2 separate regions of the Homo sapiens genome follow, and region 1 is linked to region 2. The links are contacts of gene promoters, found by promoter capture Hi-C in human tissues and cell types (Jung and others, 2019). All regions are on one chromosome and are shown on one strand. Each heading gives the region's core, a stretch centred on a gene start or on the middle of the fragment in contact. The rest is flanking DNA. Distances are from core to core; before and after follow the strand shown. Region 1 holds the start of GNG14 (G protein subunit gamma 14). Region 2 holds the start of ZNF491 (zinc finger protein 491).

Region 1 (6,295 bases), core at 1,699-4,198, 890 kb after region 2:
CAGGCTGGAGTGCAGTGGCACGATCTCGGCTCACTGCAACCTCCGCCTCCCAGGTTCACGCCATTCTTCTGCCTCAGCCTCCCCAGTAACTGGGACTACAGGCGCCGGCCACCACGCCCGGCTAATATTTTGTATTTTTAGTAGAGACGGGGTTTCACCGTGTTAGCCAGGGTAGTCTCGATCTCCTGACCTCGTGATCCGCCCGCCTCAGCCTCCCAAAGTGCTGGGATTACAGGCATGAGCCACCGCGCCTGGCCTGCTGCTATTTTTTGATAGGGTCTCACTCTGTCGCCAGGCTGGAGTGCTGTGACGCGATCTCGGCCCACTGCAACCTCTGACTCCCGGACTCAGGTCATCCTCCCACCCCAGCATTCCGACTAGTGTGCACCATCGTGCCCAGCTAATTTTTTTATGAGGGTCACTTTTTTTTTTTTTTTTTTTTTTGAGACAGAGTCTCGCTCTGTCGCCCAGGCTGGAGTGCAGTGGCGCAATCTCGGCTCACTGCAAGCTCTGCCTCCCAGGTTCATGCCATTCTCCTGCCTCAGCCTCCCGAGTAACTGGGACTACAGGTGCCCGCCACCACACCCGGCTAATTTTTTCTGTTTTTAGTAGAGATGGGGTTTCACCGTGTTAGCCAGGATGGTCTCGATCTCCTGAACTCGTGACCCGCCCGCCTTGGCCTCCCAAAGTGCCAGGATTACAGGCGTGAGCCACTGCGCCCGGCCGAGGGTCACTTCTTAAGCGTCACCCATGGACAAGATTTCGGTCACCAGGCAGAGTTAGACACAGTTTCATCCTTCCTCAGCCACTTTTGTCTAATGGGATAGTGAGCCCGGTTCGTGCCCTCACAAGTCTCCAAAGCCTTCACATGCTGCATAACGCTCTGTTCTTCCTTCCCTTATAGCTGCAGCTGTCACCTCCACCTCCTCTGGGAAGCCTTCCCTGAACTCCCACTGGGTCAGTGGCCTCTTCTGGGACCCAGGGCTGACGTCTCTTTCCCTCCTGCAAGAATGTGAGACCCTGGGTGTCATCTGTATCTCAAACACACCCTCCTAACAGTGCATACGGCCAACAGGATTATTCACTCACTCTACAATTCATGTAGTCTATTCTCTATGGTGGGCTCCGTGCTAGGCACTAAGGATTTAGTGGTGAACAAGACCAAGATGTGGACCCTGCCCTACTGGAGCCCACAATCTGATTGGGAAGATAGAAAGTTAACAATAGTGGTGAGTGCTATCAGGCCTTTTTTGTTTTTTGTTTTTTTTGGAGACAGAGTTTCGCTCTTGTTGCCCAGGCTGGAGTGCAATGGCGCGATCTCCACTCATCGCAACCTCTGCCTCCCAGTTTCAAGCAATTCTCCTGCCTCAGCCTCCCGAGTAGCTGGGATTACAGGCATGAGCCATCACGCCCGGCTAATTCTTGTATTTTTAGTAGAGATGGGGTTTCACTATGTTGGTCAGGCTAGTCTCGAACTCCTGACCTCAGGTGATCTGCCTGCCTCGGCCTCCCAAAGTGCTGGGATTACAGGTGTGAGCCACCGCGCCCAGCGCAATCAGGATTTAAACAGGATAATTTGAGTCTTTAGGTGGAGGAGTTCGGGATTTTAGTTGGAGGGATGGGTGAAGGACGCCAAGGAGGTGAGATTTGAGCCAAAGCCAGAAGGCTGAGAAAATCCCCGTATGTGAAGATGCAGAGAGGCCATTTCCTGCACATGGGAAGACAGAACAGCAAAAGCCGTGAGGCTGGAATGAGCCTACCTTGTTGGAGGAGACAGACATCCTCCTTGACATCCTCGCTTGGACCTCAAAGTTGCCCCCTCAGCTCCCTCTCCACCTATCCCTGATCTTTCTGCATCTCAGCAAACGGCCCCACCCTCCACTCATCCACTAGACTGAAAAATAGGGATTGGGGCTGGGCGCGGTGGCTCACACCTGTAATCCCAGCACTTTGGGATGCCAAGGAGGGCAGATCACCTGAGGTTAGGAGTTAGAGACCAGCCTGGACAACATGGCGAAACCCCGTCTCTACTAAAAAATACAAAAATTAGCCGGGTGTGGTGGCGCACACCCATAATCCCAGCTACTCAGGAGGCTGAGGCAGGAGAATCACTTGAACCCGGGAGGTGGAGGTTGCAGTGAGCTGAGATGGTGCCACTGCACTCCAGCCTGGGCAACAGAGCGAAACTCCGTCTCAAAAATAGATAAATAAAAATTAAAAATGAGGAGCGCAGCTTGCTGTCTCCCCTTTTCTCACACCCCACATCCATCCTTCTCAGCATGTCTGCCAACCTCTACCTATAAAGTAGGTCCGAAATCCAGGTGTTTTCTTTATCCCCATAGCCTGCAAGCTGGCTTTGGTATCCTCCAACCCATCTCCCACCTAACAGCTAAAATCAGAGAGCTTTTTTTTTTTTTTTTTTTTTTTTGAGACGGAGTCTTGCTCTGTCGCCCAGGCTGGAGTGTAGTGGTGTGATTTCGGCTCACTACAAGCTCCACCTCCCGGGTTCACGCCAGTCTCCTGCCTCAGCCTCCCAAGTAGCTGGGACTACAGGCGCCCGCCACACGCCCAGCTAATTTTTTGTATTTTTAGTAGAGACGGGGTTTCACCATGTTAGCCAGGATGGTCTTGATCTCCTGACCTCGTGATCCGCCCACCTCAGCCTCCCAAAGTGCTGGGATTACAGGCATGAGCCACCGTGCCCAGCCGCTGAGCTTTTTTTTTTGATGCAGGGTCTCACTCTGTCACCAGGGCTGGAGTGCAGTGGGACAATCACACCTCACTGCAGCTTCGACCTCCTGGCCTCAAGTGATCCTCCCACTTCAGCCTCCCCAGTAGCTGGGACTACAGGTGCATGCCACAGCTCTTTAACCATAAATCAAACATGTCACTGTTAAAACCTCCTAATGGTAGCTTCCCCCTGGGAGTAAAATCCAAGCTTTTCACAGTGGCCTTAAAGGGCACCTCTCAACCTCCCTGCTGCCATCTCCCACCATGCTGGCCCTCCCTCCCTCTCTCCTCTCCAGCTACACAGACCTCTTTGCTATTCCTGGAACCCACCAAGCTCTTTTTTGTCCAAGGAGTCAGGTACTTGCCGCTCCTTCTGCCTAGAACACCCCATTTCTCAGTTCCTTCTCCTCCTTTGGGCCTAAGTTCAAATGTCACCTCCTCTGAGAGGCCTGCCCTGACCACTCCTCTCCCCTTTACTTTGATTTTATTCTTCTTTCATATGCCCTTTCACATGTATACTCTTTCACTGAGTACATTTTCTGTTGTCCATCCCTGCCTAACTAGAAAGGCAGCTCCATGAGGGCAAGGTTTTGTCTTGTTTCATTGCTAATTTGGGTTTTTGCACAGTGCTGGGCACATATTAGAATCTCGGGGCAGGGCTCAGTGGCTTATGCCTATAATTCCTTTGGAAGGCCAAGGCAAGAGGATCGTTTGAGGCCAGGAGTTCAAGACCAGCCTGGGCAACATAGTAAGAACCATCTCTACAAAAAGTTAAAAACATAAATTAGCAGGGCACGGTGGCTCACGCCTATAATTCTAGCTAATCAGGAGGCTGAGTTGAGAGGATCACTTGAGCCCAGGAGTTTGAAGTTACAGTGAGCTATGATTGTACCACTGCACTCCAGCCTGGACGACAGAGCGAGAACCTGGGCTTAAAAAAAGAAAAGAAGGCCAGGCACGATGGCTCACACCTGTAATCCCAGCACTTTGGGAGGCCGAAGCAGGTGGATCACTTGAGGTCAGGAGTTCGAGACCAGCCTGGCCAACATGGTGAAACCCCTTCTCTACTAAAAATACAAAAATTAGCCAGGTGTGGCCGGGCGCAGTGGCTCATGCCTGTAATCCCAGCACTTTGGGAGGCTGAGGCAAGTGGATCACCTGAGATCAGGAGTTCAAGACCAGCCTGACCAACATGGTGAAACCTCATCTCTACTAAAAATACAAAAAATTAGCCGAGCATGGTGGCACATGCCTGTAATCCCAGCTACTCGAGAGGCTGAGGCAGAAGAATCGCTTGAACCCAGAAGGCGGAGGTTGCAGTGAGCCGAAATCACGCTATTGCACTCTAGCCTGGGCAACAAGAGCGAAATACCATCTCAAAAAAAAAAAAAAAAAAAAAATTAGCCGGGTGTGGTAGCATACGCCTGTAATCCCAGCTACTCAGGAGGCTGAGGCAGGAGAATCACTTGAGCCCGGGAGGTGGAGGTTGAAAGTGAGCTGAGATCGCACCACTGCACTCCAACATGGGTGATAGAGCAAGACTCTCTCTCAAAAAAAAAAAAAAAAAAAAAAAAAAGAACGAAGGCATTGGAGATTTGAGCCTGAGCAGTGGCGACAACAGGAGGAGAGGCAAGGCTGCATGTTGGAGATGGCAGAGGCTGACAAAGCAGATGTGTTGGGAACAGTTAGCAGGAGATCCAGCAGGCCAGGGGGAGGCCAGGGCCTCCTCACTCCCCCAGCCAAGGCACCTAGCCCACAGGGACCCAGGTGACACATGACACCAGAGGAGCCACAGGGCCTCCTGGGGCAGGGACCCCCTCAGCCGAGGCAGCAGCTGCTGCTGCAGCTGGTGACATTTCACTCCATGAGAGCCCTGGCTTCAAAGTCTTTGCAGGGGTAGCCGAGGGAGAAAAGGGGGTTGAAGAGGACAGGCTGGGTTGGGGAGGGAGCCACAGCAGGGTGGCCACCAGAGGACCAGGCAGCCAGAGGTGACTTGGGCCGGAGCCCTTAGCCGAGGTGTGTGGGCCTGATGGGTCCAGGAGCAGCCACCCTCATCCTGCAGCCCCCAAGGAACATAGAAGGAGGTGTGGGAACCCTCGGGCAGCCCTAGGCTCCCCCTAGGGGACTGAGGTTGGGCCTGCTGCCCACGGCCTGCCCACTTTACCCAGATGTCCAGCAAGGTGGCCATCAACAGTGACATTGGGCAGGCCCTCTGGGCAGTGGAGCAGCTCCAGATGGAGGCAGGCATCGACCAAGTGAAGGTGAGGGTCGGGGCCAGTGCAGGAGGCGGGAAGAGGTGGGAACACATGGGCCAGGGGACAGGTGCATGCCTGGGTCTGGTCTGGCTGAACCAGTTGGTCTGCAGGTGTCCAAAGATGGCCGCCGATCTGCTGAAGTTCTGCACGGAGCAGGCCAAGAATGACCCCTTCCTTGTGGGCATCCCGGCCGCCACCAACTCCTTCAAGGAGAAGAAGCCCTATGCCATCCTATGAACCCAGGGCAATGCCACCCTGTGGCCTGGGCAAACCAGGGGGCCTCAATAAACATGAAGTGAATACTTCTCAGGGCATGGCTGAGCTGGGCTGAGATGGGAGACCAGAGGGACTTTGGGCTTGCAGGGGCCAGGTGCGTACCTGGCCCAGCCTCCCTCCCTGCCTGCCCCCGGGGTCACAGCCACAGCAGCACACACACACCCTGGAGCCCCAGACGGAGAGCACGCCATCCCTCTTGCCCTCGCCAGCACCCATGGGATAGCCTGAGCAGGTACCCTTTCCCACCGTGCAGACAAATGGCCAGGATTTGAGTCATAATCTATACACCACACGCGTCACACATCACACACACACGTGACATCATAGACACAGATGCCCACGATCCTCAGGACTCTCCCTCTTCAAATGCACAGCAACAGCTGACATGCACCCCCAGCCCAGACTTGCTATCTCTCCCAGTCACTCCCATGCAGGCCCGCAGCCCCACAGCCCCAAGCAGGCACAGGCAGAACCCCAGCAGGCAAACCACACTCACACTCCAGGCCCAAGCACCAACATGTCAGGTTTATTTCTCCTTCGCTCTCAACTGAGAGCGGGGCATCCAAATCATAACAAAACCAGGGCCCAAGAGTGGGAAGCGGCCCCCTGGGTGGGCCTGAACCCCAATTTCACCCTTCCCCCGGGCATAGGGCCCAGGCCAGGACGCTCACCCGAATGTGGCTGGGACTCCTTGTGCCCTAGGCCCACGGGGCGGAGGCAGCACCAACATTGGGGATGGTCCCCCAAGAACAGAGGAGGAAGCCCAGCCTCCGGCAGGCAGTATCCACATCCACGCCCACCTGCTCAGGCCTGCAGCCTCCAGACCTCTAGCGACAGGTCTCCAGAGCCGGCCACCACCAGGTTGCCCTCAGCACAGACCTGGGAAGGGGGAGGAACATGAGGAGTCAGGGACGATGGCGCTCTGGCCAGCTGGGCAGGGCACATGGGGCAGGACCTTACCCTATTGAGCCCATTGTCATGCCTTCGGGTGCAAATGGTCCTTGGTGGGTCTGTGGGCACGTGCACCTAGTGAG
Region 2 (6,958 bases), core at 2,347-4,846:
TGTTTTTTCCATTTGTTTGTGTCATCTGTAATTCTTTAATCAGTGTTTTATAGATTTTTTCTTTTTGTAGAGGCCTTTCACCTCCTTGGTGCAATATATTCCCATGTGGGGTGGGGTGTTATTTGGTAGCTCTCGTAAGTGGTATTGCTTTCTCGATTTGGTTCTCAGCTAGATTGTTGTTGCTGTATAGAAACACTGCTGACTTTTGTACACTGACTTTGTATCCTGAAACTCCTGAATTAATTTAACTAATCTAAGAGATTTTTGGTGGAGTCTTAAGCGTTTCTAGATGTAAGATTATATATCACTGAACAGGAATAATTTGACTTCCTCTTTTCCAATTTGCATGTCTTTTATTTCTTTCTCTTGCCTGATTGCTCTGGCCAAGACTTCCTATACTAGGGTTGAATAAGAGTGGTGAAAGTAGGCATCCTTAATCTTGTTCTAGTTTTTATCATTCAACTATTTCCCCATTCAGTATGATGTTGGCTGTGTGTTTATCATGTGTGGCTTTTATTATTTTGAGATATGTTCATTCTGTACCTAGTTTTTTGAGCTTTTATCATGAAGGATGCTGAATTTTATCAAGTGTGTTTTCTAAATCTATTGAGATGATCATATGGTTTTTATTCTTCATTCTGTTTTTGTGATGTGTTACATATATTAACTTGTGTGTGTTGGACCATTTTTGCATTCCTGGTATAAAACCTACTTTATCATGCTGTATTATCTTTTTAATGTGCGGTTGGATTCAGTTTGCTAGTGTTTTGTTGGGGATTTTCACATCCGTGTTCATCGGGGATATTGGTCTGTAGTTTTGTTGTTGTGTCCTTGTCTGTTTTTGGTATTAGGATGTTACTGGCCTCATAGAATGAGTTAGGGAGATTTCCCTTGTCTGTGATTTTTAGGGACAGTTTCAGGATTATTAGTATAGTTCTTTTTGTATGTTTGGTATAATTTTTTTAATGTTGATTTTTAAATTTTTATTTTTTTACTTAGAGATGGGATCTTGTTATGTTGGCCAGGGTGGTCTCAAACTCCTGGCCTCAAGCAATCCTCCTGTCTCAGGCTCCACAGTGCTATGATTACAGGCATGAGCCACCACATCTGGCCTATTTGGTACAATTTTGGTATAAATCTGTCTGGCCCAGAGCTTTCATTTTTGGGAATTTTTTTATTGCTGATTCAATATTGCTACTTATTATTGGTCTATTCAGGATATCTGTTTCTTCTTGGTTCAATCCTGGGAGGTTATACGTTTCAAAAAAACCTATAGGTTTTCTAGGTTGTGAGCATATAGTTGTTCATAGTAGTCTCTGATGGTATTTCTGTGGTATTGGTGTAATGTCTTCTTTTTCAATTCTGGTTTTGTTCATTTGAATCTTCTTTTTTTTCTTGGTTAGTCTAGCCAGCAGTTTATTACTTTTGTTGATATTTTCAAAGAACCAACTTTTTGTTTCGTTTATCATTTGTGTTGTTTTTTAGTCTTGATTTTGTTTAATTCTGCTCTGATCTTTGTTATTTCTTTTCTGCCAACTTTGGATTTGTTTTGTTCTTGTTTTCCTAGTTCCATGGGGTACCATGTTAGGTTGTTAATTTGTTACTTTTTTGACAGAGGCATATAATTCTATAAACTTCCCTCTTAGCATGACTTTTCCTATATCCCAGAGGTTTTGATATGTTGTGTTGCCATTTTTGTTCATTTCAAACAAAATTTTTATTTTCTGTTTTTATTTCTTCTTTGACTCAGAGATCATTCAGGAGCACATTGTTTAATTTCCATGTATTTATACAGTTTTCAAAGTTCCTCTTGGTATTGATTTTTAGTTTTATTCAGCAGTCTGAGAAGATGCTTGAAATGATTTTGACTTTAAAATTTGTCGAGACTAGTTTTGTGGCCTAACATATGGTCTACCTTGGAGAATGTTTCACGTACTGATGAGAAGAATGTATATTCTGCAGTTGTTGGGTTCTGTAAACGTCTGTTAGCTCCATTTGGTCCAAAGTCCAACTTAAGTCCAATTTTTTTGTTGATTGTCTGTCTTGATGATATATCTACTACTGTGTGTGAGGTGCTGAAGTCCCATACTATTATTGTATTGCTATCTATATCTTTCTTTAGGTCTAGAAATATTTGCTTTATTAATTTGGCCTCTCCAATGTTGGATGCATATATATTTAGTATTACTATATTATCTTGCTGAATTGATTCTGTTATCAGTATCTCATGATCTTCTTTGTCTTTTTGTACTGTTTTTTATTTAAAGTCTATTTTATCTGATACAACTATCACAACTCTTGCTGAAGCACAGTGGCGAGATCATAGGTCACTGAAGCTTCAAACTCCTGGGCTCAAGATCTTCCCACCTCAGCCTCCCGAGTAGCTGGGACTACAGGTTCAGGACACCACGCACTGCTAATTTTTAAATTTTTAGTACAGACGAGGTGTGGCTCCGTTTTCCAGGATGATGAACTCCTGGGTTCAAGCAGTCCTCCCGCTTCAGCCTCCAAAAGGGTTGGGATTATAGGCGTGAGCCCCCGCACCCTGCCTGCAAGTCTTTTAATTCACTTCAATTATCTTAGAATTTTCCTTCCCCACTTTATACATACGTACAGTGGAACTGAGGGTGTTTGTCTCAGGTAACCGATCAATGAAGTGAATAACCTGTAGGGGGCAGCAGAGCCTAAGGCCAGTGACACCCTGCTGAGGCCAGTCTGGAGCCGGCAAAGGGAGGGAAAGGGAGCTCCCCTGGGTGTTTCCCGGGCAGCCTGCCCTCTACTGCAGGTGGCCTCCAGCTGCTCAGAACAGCTGCGGAAGGAATGTGGATCCTGAGAAGCTACAGAGCCCTGGAAAGCAGGAGACTCACGTGCAGGTGCACTTTGTGTAGGGGGGTTGGGGGGAGGTTCTGTCCTTACTGGGGCTGTACCTAGAGCCTAGGGACGTTTTGCGGGGGCAGTGTTTGGTTTTTACGTGCAAAGGGTCCCGGCGACAGACTGTAATTTGTACATACAAAGATAATCTGTGAAGATCAGGCTCAGTAAGATTTGTCTGACATGTCACCTGGAGAAAGGGTTTGTGAAGGTAATAGTTTACTTAGGTTAGAAGCTTAAACTGACCCCAGGTGAGAACTTCTGCTGGTGAAAATGAAGTCTAGGGGGAGGAAGCGGTTCCATATTCAGGGGTGGGACGGGGGGAGTGTGAGGAAGTCTCATCCCCAATTCCCGCCCTGTAGAGGACACCTGCCTCTCCCTCCTGGTGCAGTCTTGCCTGGCCTGGCCTGGCCTGGATTTCCTTCCTGCTATGAGGCAAAGGAATGACTCCATTGAACACCGAGTCTGGAATTCCCAGCACACATTTCTGAAAGATCGAGGAAGCTAACAGTGCCCCTTCTAACAATAAGTAGCAAGTTTGGCTGAAATGCAGATAGCCAACGACCAGGGCGCAGGGAGTGAGCTTAGCCTTAGAAAGGCTGTAGCTAGGATTAATCAGCCGGGCTCTGCAGGGCTCCGTTACCCAGGGCTTACCCTGTCACTCAGGGCTGAGGGGCGGAGCCTGGAACCCCATCCAATCAGGGGCCCTGGGACGGGGCCCTGCCAACTGTCAATCCGGGGAAGCAGAAGGCCGCACTCAGAGTCTCTGCACTCCTTTGTTGCTGGGGTCCGTTGCGTTCTGCATCCAGTCCTTGCTGCTCCGAGAGGCCCCAGGTGCCTCCGCCACGGCTCCTGTGACGCTGTCACCTGCGCTGTGACCTGCTCCGGAGTCATAAAGAGGACGCCGGGACACCAAGAAGCAGGGAAATGGTAAAGTGCCCGGCCTAGCGTCCAGATACGTGGAAGAGGGGCTGGGTGGAACCAACAGGATCCTGCTGTGGCGGGACCCAGGCCTCCGCTCGGGCGACCCCGGCGATTGGGACCCGCGTCCCCCATGGCGTGGCTTGGCCCTCGGTCCGCTCGGCCGCCAGGTGGGGCTGGGCCCGCAGCTGGGACCCCGGGCGTCCTGTCCCGTCCCTACGCGGCGACTGCGGCCCCGGCCCCGGAGTCCTCTCTGGGCAGCTCCGCGCCCGCAGCCCGGCGTCTTCCCAGATTGTGCGGGGGCCACGGGAGGGTCATGGGGGGTCGGATGTGTCCCGCCTTTCTTCTGCTAAAAATTAAACTGAGGCTCTGTTAACAGTTAAAGAGTTTGTTGGAGCAACAGCGATTCCGAGTGAGAAACACCCGGTCATGGCTTGTGATTGAAGAAAAGGCTTTTATAAGTTGCATGAGGAGGCAAACAGGATTAAATACTTGATTAGTTACAGTGATGCTGTCGCCGTATGTGGACTTGTCAACCTGAAATAAAAGAATCAGATTCCAGTTTTTTAAAGTTTACTCAAGCAAGAAGCTGGGAATGGCCCATTTGGGAAAACACAGGATCCACGGAAATGGGCTCAGTGTTTCAAATTTAAAAGTTTAAGTTCTTGCTTATATAGGCAAGAAATTTAACAGGATTACAACGTTTTTTATACAAGGCTAGTTTGTGAGGCACAACAATTTAATCAGAGTTTGGCCCGCCCCCCTCCCCCCGCCCCCATAGAGCTTTTTTTTTTTTTTCTTTACATTTGGGTTTCATTTCCTTTCCAATTTAAAAGAGTATATTTAACATTCCAGCGTAAGGCAAGGTGATGCCAGCGTGGACAACATGGCGAGACCCCGTCTGTACAAAATATTTTAAAAAATTAGTCGGGTATGGCCGGGCGCGGTGGCTCACGTCTACAATCCCAGCACTTTGGGAGGCCGAGGCGGGCGGATGACGAGGTCAGGAATTCGAGACCATCCTGGCCAACATGGTGAAACCCCGACTCTACCAAAAATACAAAAATTAGCTGGGCGTGGTGGCACGTGCCTGTAATCCGGCTACTCGGGAGGCTGAGGCAAGACAATCGCTTGAACGCAGGAGGCGGAGGTTGCGTGAGCCGAGATGGTGCCACTGCACTCCAGCCTGGCGACAGAGCGAGACTCTGTTAAAAAAAAAAAAAATTAGTCAGGTATGATGGCCGCTTCTGTAGTTAGTCTGGAGGCTGAGGCAGGAGAATTGCTTGAGCCCAGGAGGTGAAGGCTGCATCAACGACAGTATTGAATTTACAGCTAATAGGCAAGGTGAGGGAGAGGATGGAAGTTGGTTTAGTGTCAAGAATTAGGGAAGAGATTGTCAAACGTAGGGAAAAGGGACTTGATTGGATATCAGGTTTGGGGGAATTTTCTCTAAACTCCCTTAGAAGGGTTTTTGCTACCACAGGGCTCTGCAGGAAAAGGCCAAAGTCTACTCAAGAAGAGGGGGGCTCTGAGGAGCCTGACTAGTTTGATCAAAGAGGGAGTTTTTGGGACCCCTCTCCCAGCCTAGTTCTTCCCAGGTATGACAGTAAATCCCTAAATTTCTGGTTTTCTCCTCACATTCAAAAACACCAACTTCCCCTCGCCAATTGACATCCTTATCAATTATGTGTTTCCCATGCTACATTTGAAACAGCTGCCATATTTTATCATTTTTCCACAGACAAATGAATAGCACTATTTAAAAATGTTATCAACACCTCTGAAAATAAGGAAAACTTTTTTTTTTTTTTTTTTTTTGAGACAGTCTCACTGTGTCTGTTGCCCAGGCTGGAGTGCAATGGTGCTATCTTGGCTCACTGCAACCTCGGCCTCCTGGGTTCAAGCGATTCCCCTGCCTCAGCCTCCCAAGTAGCTGGGATTACAGGCATGTGCCGACATGCCCGGCAGATTTTTGTATTTTTAGTAGAGACACGGGAAAGAAAACATTTTTTAAAAATTTTAGTCCAGGCACAGTGACTCACTCCTGTAATCCCAGCACTTTCAGAGGCCCAGGTGGGAGGATTGCTTGAGCCTAGGAGTTCAAGACCAGAGTGGGCAGGGCAACATAGCAAGATCTCATCTCTACTGAAAACAACCAAACAAAATAGCTGGGCATGGTGTCATATTCCTGTAGTCTCAGCTACTATACTCGGGAGACTAAGGCGGGAGGATCGCTTGAGCCCCGAAGATCCAAGGCTGCAGTGAGCCTTGAGGGCACCACTGCACTCCAGCCTGGGAGACAGGGTGAAAATTTTCCTCAAAAAAACAAAAACTTTAGGGCTTGGCATGCTGGCTTACACCTGTAATCCCAGCACTTTGGCAGGCCGAGGTGGGAGGATCACTTGAGTCCAGAAGTTTAAGACCAGCTCAGCAACATAGAGAGACCCCGTCTCTATTAAATAAATAAATAAAATTTTAAAAAGAAAAAAATTATATTTTGTTTATGAATATTTTTTATGAGAGGAAACTATTCAGTAACTACCCAAAATGACATTGGGTAAAACTCCATGGCTGATTCTTGACATTGATCATCTTTTCATGTGTTTGTTGGCCATTTGTGTATGTCTGGGAGAAATGTCATTAAAATCCATTGCTTGGCTGGATGTGGTGGCTCATGCCTATAATCTCAGCACTTTGGGAGGCTGAGGCGGGTGGATCATGAGGTCAGGAGTTCAAGACCAGCCTGGCCAACATAGTGAAACCCTGTCTTTACTAAAAATACAAAAATTAGCTGGGCATGGTGGTGCATGCCTATAGTCCCAGCTACTCAGGAGGCTGAGGCAGGAGAATTGCTTGAACCTGGGAGGCGGAGGTTGCAGTGAACCAAGATCGCGCCATTGCCCATATTTTAGTCAATTAGTTTTCCTTTTTGGTACAATAATTTTTCTAGTTAATTACAATAAGAAAAACCTTAAAAATTTTACTAGCTCAAGCATTTTAAGTGTACCATTGAGTTAGTTTGACAATTTTATATAACTTCTCTAAGATGAGTCATACTGCATTTTTCTTTTTCTGACTGGTCTTTTGCAGTTAGCTTAGTATCATGAAGTTTCATGCCTGTTGTAGTATGGGACAGGATGTCATTTTATAAGAATAAATAATATCC

What was found. Contacts are between HindIII fragments. The study calls those that stand out against the background at their distance.
Region 1: a contact is called between a fragment that was not itself captured here and the fragment with the promoter of ZNF491 in region 2, in 1 of the 25 tissues and cell types used here (dorsolateral prefrontal cortex).

The regions. Positions count from the first base shown.
Region 1 is chr19:12,683,151-12,689,445 of GRCh38, forward strand. GNG14 (G protein subunit gamma 14) reads left to right here and starts at 4,848. Exons shown (of 1, transcript NM_001316692.2): 1 at 4,848-5,272. The coding sequence starts at 4,899. The coding sequence ends at 5,222. It overlaps FBXW9 (F-box and WD repeat domain containing 9), which reads right to left. Exons shown (of 10, transcript NM_032301.3): 9 at 6,222-6,287; 10 at 5,766-6,140. The coding sequence ends at 6,066. RefSeq lists an enhancer at 1-473. The HindIII fragment of the contact is 4,816 bases long and covers 541-5,356 here.
Region 2 is chr19:11,794,927-11,801,884 of GRCh38, forward strand. It overlaps ZNF491 (zinc finger protein 491), which reads left to right and starts at 3,597. Exons shown (of 3, transcript NM_152356.4): 1 at 3,597-3,801. RefSeq lists a silencer at 2,589-2,758 and enhancers at 2,852-3,363, 3,589-3,688, 3,699-3,858. The HindIII fragment of the contact is 4,685 bases long and covers 569-5,253 here.